Regions from separate parts of the Homo sapiens genome. Here region 1 is linked to region 2. The links are contacts of gene promoters, found by promoter capture Hi-C in blood cells and fetal thymus (Javierre and others, 2016). All regions are on one chromosome and are shown on one strand. The core of a region is centred on a gene start or on the middle of the fragment in contact, and the rest is flanking DNA. Distances in the headings are between cores, read along the strand shown.

Evidence for each region. The method cuts DNA at HindIII sites, captures the fragments that hold promoters and counts their contacts. A CHiCAGO score of 5 or more calls a contact.
Region 1: a fragment that was not itself captured here is called in contact with the fragment with the promoter of JAKMIP2 in region 2 in 1 of 17 cell types (fetal thymus); the score reaches 5.0 in fetal thymus.

Annotation. Positions count from the first base shown.
Region 1 is chr5:147,454,014-147,457,030 of GRCh38, forward strand. The region is part of intron 1 of DPYSL3 (dihydropyrimidinase like 3); the gene reads right to left. Among named protein-coding and RNA genes, the nearest start is that of DPYSL3, 55 kb to the right of the region's middle. RefSeq lists a silencer at 76-215 and an enhancer at 1,934-2,435. The HindIII fragment of the contact is 650 bases long and covers 1,298-1,947 here.
Region 2 is chr5:147,781,304-147,784,653 of GRCh38, forward strand. JAKMIP2 (janus kinase and microtubule interacting protein 2) reads right to left here and starts at 1,425. Exons shown (of 22, transcript NM_001270941.2): 1 at 1,153-1,425. The HindIII fragment of the contact is 4,284 bases long and covers 998-3,350 here.

The DNA.
Region 1 (3,017 bases), core at 373-2,872, 330 kb before region 2:
GCGGAGTCAGGCTGCTCCACAGCCACCAGGGGGCGCGAGGGGCTTTTCGGGAGCGGAGGCTGAGTCCCGGGGGTGGGAGCATCAGCTACGCCCTCCCGGCCGCGGGGCCGAGTTGCGGGCGCCGCCGCCCCCAGCCAGCTCCTCGTCGGATCTCCTACCTTCCCCGCCCTAGTTTCAGAATGGAGACGGTTCCCGGCTTCCCTCCCGGCACCCGCTCTCCTCTGCCATGGCGCGGGTCGAATGCGGCGGCCGCGCCTTTGTTCGAGAGGAGGGCTGGGCGCCGCCTCTGCTGCTCGCGGGGTGGTAAACAGCGGCGCAGCCCCTTCAGACGCCGGAGACTGGTCCGACTCTGCAACCTGGCGGGCCTGCTGGGGTCCCCAGACCCGGAACATACACATTAGAAAATGGAAAGCCGTGACTCGCTCTCAGAGGCTGCAAGGGGCACGGTAGCAGTGGACTCAACCATTCCCTGTATTTAAAAAATATCCAAGTAGTATCTTGTTAAAGAAACTCCACTGCCTGACTGAGTCTCAGAATCAAAGAAAGAACATGAATGCTGCTCTGTGAGTAAAAAGTAGAAAACACCTGTGGAGTGGGAAGGCAGTAGCCCAGACACGTTCCTGGTGCGCAGCCATGGATTTGGAGTAGAACTGCTATTGCTCCCCATCAGTAATGAACCACGTGCACTGCTCACAATCCCGAGTTTACTTTAGGCAGGGCTGACAGACGAAGGTTTATATGTTATTACAAGCAAAACCATGGCCCTTCGGCGATGGAATACATTGTCCTTTAGCTACCTGCTAAAATCAAACGGCCAAAGGGAGACATATTTGGAGAGGCCACTGTGGGTGGGGTCTGAGTGGTGGCTGGGGGTGAGGGAGCTCCTCAACTCTCACGACAAATAATTCCAAACATAAAATTTAAGGAACCAAAAAAAGACTTGCTATGCAAAAAAAATTATAAAACCCTTTGAAGACAATTTTCCCACCGCTCCCCAATTGTCAATCTTAATGTTCTATTAAATAGAAATCCTGTATGTCACTAAGCATGACTAAAGCTGTGTTGAATCTTGAATTCACGTTTCCATAAGGCAGCCCACTGATGGCAATTCTAGACATCTTGTCATTAAAGTGAAGACGTGCTTGCGATAAAGAAACTATATAAGGCATCCACAGAAAGAGAATACAGAATACTCCGGCTTGGGCTTTCCATAAACCCGAAACGAACCAGACTGGTCACATAATCCAAGGACACACAAAGCCCCCCTTAAACACTCCCTCTCAAGTGAGTTAATCCAAGCTTCTGGTTATTTATGGTTAATTGGACTGAATGCAGTCTTCGCAAGAAAAGTCCACAGCAGTCTCCACTTTATTTCTGTGATACTCTGCAAAGGAGGATGAATGCCAAGCAAAGATCACCTCCCTATACTCTTGCAAAACACAAGGGGGAATAAAAAGACTGGGCCAAAGGCACGCCCTAAACATTTTGCTTTGTTCTTAAAGCGTAAGTGCTGAGACCACTAGCCAAGAGTTGTGAAATTACAAAGCATTCTGGGGATTGGCATGCAAATGAGCAGGATTATATTTAGAACAGAGTAAAAGGAGAATTAACTACATACTATGGAAACCAGCAGAGCTCTCTCTCTCTGCATCTTTCCTGTAGATTTTACTGCCCCAAACTTGCTGGAAAGGATCTTGCACATTTTTCTCAAGAAAAGCAAAAATATGTAGGGGACATTTACAATCCTAAAAAAAAAATACCGCTGCTGCTGCCTTTTTTTTTAATTTTACAAGTTTCTTTGCCTTTCTTACATCTGAGTTATCTCCTCTGTTACCATCATTATAATCCAGAACACTCTTTACTAAATAGATTTATACCATATTTTTGATCACTTGATTGTGTGTGTGTGTGTGTGTGTGTGTTGTTTCAAATAACAAGACTTGGTTAAGCTTTTTTGAGGTCAGGTTTGCATGCAAGAGGCCATGCTGAATGGCAATTGCAATGTGTTCTTCTGGATCCGGCTGCTGTGACCAGCCAGACACAGAAACACAGCAAATTGATTCAAGCTGTTGCCATCATCAGAAATGTACAACAAACACTATTTTCCTTGTTTCATCCCCTTCAATTATCTTTCACTTTCTTGAACCAAAATAAAGCCTCTAAGATGAATTTGAAGGAAAAAGCCTTCCTTGGCCATAAGAAAGGCAGCCATCAACACAGGATGCCTCTGTGTCTGGCCAAGAGAGAGAAGAATGGAACCAGTATGGATGTTTTCCACAGTAGAATGACTCTGAATGGTTTTCCTTGGATACACAGCAGTGCTTGGCTTTAGGTATCTCAGTAAACTGAAAGAGGGAGAGGAAGATGTAGAAATAGACTTGATTTACAGTCCCAAAGAAACTTAATTTTGGCTACCACACCTGCCACACCACAGATTTCCACACTTAAATCAATGGGTACTCCATTCCAGTTGCTCAGGCGAAAGGTTTGGCACCATCCTTGATTTCTCTCCTTCAATCATGCCCCTACTCTCCACAGACAATCTTTCAGCAAATGCTACTGATTCTATTTTTTTTTTTTTTTTTTTTTTTTTTGAGACAGAGTCTCGCTCTTGTTGCCCAGGCTGGAGTGCAGTGGGGTGATCTCGGCTCACAGCAACCTCCGCCTCCCAGGTTTAAGCAATTCTCCCGCCTCATCCTCCTGAGTAGCTGGCATTACAGGTGTCTGCCACCACACCTGGCTAATTTTTGTACTTTTAGTAGAGAGGGGGTTTCACCATGTTGGCCATGCTGGTCTCGAACTCCTGACCTCATGTGATCTGCTTGCCTCAGCCTCCCAAAGTGCTGGGATTACAGGCATGAACCACCGCACCCAGCCAGTTCTATCTTTTAAATGTATCCAGACTATGGTCTCCTCTCATGATTTGCAAAGTTTCTTCCTGTGTTTAGCCATCATTTGGCTATCACCTGAATTATTGTAACCTCCTAACTGGGTTCTCTTCCTCACCATCACTCATT
Region 2 (3,350 bases), core at 175-2,674:
TTCCTGGATACTGAAGGAATGAACATCAGATAGCAGCACTATTAAATAAAATGAATACATTTCACCTTCCAGCTTAGCTGTGCTTCCTGGGACACAAGGCACAAACATGAAAAGGTTGGGGTGGCATTTCAAGAAAACTGATTTGCTTCAACATTGATTTGGTAAGATGCTAGACACAAAATAATACCACAAACCGCCTCCCATTCCCATCATTGTAAATTCAGAGTCCTCAATATCATCCCCCACAAACCCAATTAAAAATAAAGAGGCAGGCTACAAATTTGCATCTAGTTCTATGACACAGATCAAACGATAGGCATCTGTTCCAATCGGTCACAATGAAACTAAGGGACAATAACCAGAGTAAATTTCACATTAATCCAAATAAAGCCAATGAATAATAATATAAACCAGAAGCATAGTTTCAAAAACATGCAATTACTTCCAGGCATGCAAGGACATATGTAACCCATAAAAATGGTTGCAAAGCACACCCTACATATAAATATGCTTCATAAATGCAATATAAATGCTAAGTGACATGTGTATATATGATCTGTATATCCATAAGATATACATGTGTAAGTTCACAGTCAAATCTACGTATAAAATAAAACTGGGTCTTGCAAATGATTTCTCAACAAGAGTATATTAGAATATAAAATAAAATGTCAAATTCTGGGGCCACTTTTTCTAAGCAATCAATAAAATAAGCAAAACCACCTTATAATGAGTCTGGTAAGCTTATGAGACACCAAATGTATTTCTGAAGAAGGCCCAACCCTGTATGTGAGAGCTGCAAATGAAATGATTCCTTTCAATAACACCCTCTTCTTGTTGTTAGCTCTTTTTCCAACCCCTGATGCTGTTGCTAAGCTTAGGAAAAAAGGCACCAAGTGGCTCAGTCTGCATTCTGAGCCAGTTAGAGATAAAATCAGAACACCATTTTTTTTTTTTAAACACAAGAGGTTGTCTTCTCACTTCTCTCTTCCTGGCAAGCTTCCTCTCCCTCCATCCTCATCTCTGTCTCCACATCTCCCCCTTCTAGTCTGAGGCACGGGAGTCATTGTTCAAGTTCAGGCCAGAAATGTATACACAGGTCAAATAAGAACACTCTAAACCAAGAAGGGAGCCCTACTGTTTCCTACTCACCATGCTGAGACCCGGAGAAGCTGTTTAAAGGAGGGAGAGATGCAAACTGAATCCATTTTCCTTGTGACCGAGTCGGATGCAGCCTCCGAACCCAACATCAGCAGTGGCTGCCGGTTTTTTTTTTCCCTCTGTCTCTGGTTGGCGATGGTGCGAATAGGAACCACCCTTCCAGCCCCACTAGAGTATCAGCAATAGAGGCGGCGGCGGCGGCAGCAGCAGCAGCAGCAGCATCACCAGTTGGGCCTCCTCCCTCTCGGAGGATGGGGTGAGCTCGGAAGCAGCCAGGAACTTGCAGCAGACACCTCCTCTGGCTCCTCCTCTCTCTCTCCCCCTCCCCCAGTGCCCCACCCCTGCTGCGGTAGAGGCTGCTGGCCCGGCAGCTGCTGGTTGCCATGGCAATGACCAATGATAAGCGACCAAGCTCAGGGGGAGGGGAGATGGGCGAAGCAAGCTGCAGGGTCTGGAGGGGAGTGAATTTGTGCTGCTGCCCTCTAGGATGCTCTTGATGTCTCCTACCCTGAACTCCAGGTCTTTTTAAAAATGGGGCAAGGGGGGCTAGGCACGGGGAGAGAATAATTAAAATTTAATTGAAATCTAGATAGAAACATACCAACGGCTTAGCTATTTTTTGCATTTTCTGTGGTTTTCCAATAAAAAGTATGAAATTTATTATCAGAAAAATAACAACAAATGTGGAGAAAATTATGTCGCATAATAGCAGATTATTATTACTTCCAAACGTGTTCGTCCTTTATAGCATCTTTTACTCAATACCAGGCAACAAGGTTTTTAGAAAGCAAACGGAGTGGCTGGACTTTGTAATAAATTAAGAGTCTGGTTGATTCCTTTGCACTACTCCCGGCTTGTTCTCAGGTGAGTTACTTGGTTTCACTGTTTTTCCAGCTACCCTTCTGAACAGGACTTGGAGGTAATTGACACATCCCTGAGGAAAAGTAAGTTTGGATAGAGACCGAAATTCCTTTCAACAACCACTATTCTCGGTAGCACAAGTTGGTGGACAGTTCCCAATCTTTTTAGTGTCAAACTCCTGGAGCATTCAATTTCCTGCAGGCAATTCCTGTCGTTTTCATGGATGCCTTTTTGGAGTTCCGAAGTCAGTTGGCAGTCAGGGTGGTGGGCAGGAAAAGGGGGAAGTGAAATCAGCAATGTCCAGTTCTAGGCGAGTTCTGTTTCTAACTATAAATTATAGATGACACCAGTATTTATCTCGTGGAGGGGTTGTAAAGATTGAATGAGATAATGCACTAAAAGCACTTGGCATATAGTAAGTGTACAATAAATATTTACTATTAGCAGCATAGTAGTACATTGCAGCCATCTCTTAATCTAAGGGTTTAAGGGGAATAACATGGCAATTTCAGGTAGGAGAAAAAATTAAGATGAGAAAATCCAAAGTACGTAATAACCATGATGATGATGGCAAAGACAGAGAGGCCCTAAGAGATTAAGTGTTCTCTACATCTTGATATTTGAGGACATTGTAAATCTCAGAGGAGTTAGATACATTTCCCAAATTCACAACTGATAAACGACAGAACCGGAATCAAAATGGACTCTTCTAACACTTACATTTGCTCTCCTAACCACCACACTTTTCTGCCACTCCTCCATAAAATGGAAATAATCTTTGTTCTTAATCCACAGAGTTATTTACAGGTTCAAATGGGTTTAACACAAGTTCCAGAGTCAGACGATCTAGGCTCCATTCCTAGCGCCAGTATTTACTATAGGTATAATCTGGAACATATTTATTAACTTCCTCAAATCTATGTTTCTTCATCTGTAAAAAGAAATAATCACAGAACCTCATGAGTCATTACAAAAATTAAACTAGATGACGTGTGTAAAATGTACGGTCTTTAGCAGATAGGAAATGTTCAATAAATGTAGCTACAGTTACTTGTTACTCATTTGTAAGTAACTAATATTAAAACATGAGAAGACTTTTTCCTGCATGGTGTCACTCTTAATGTCAGGGGCTTCTTCTAATAAAACTGGCTTGAAGATAACTAGGTGATGAGGAAAGAGTTGCAGCAGTTCCCCAGCACGTGACACTGGCTTTCCATCCACTTGGTGGGAAAGCCTGCAACCTCCTTTGTGCAGCTAGTGTCCCCTGCCTTCTGTCAAAGTCTCAGCAGCCACACAACCTGCACACACTTCCAAGTCAGCATCACCTA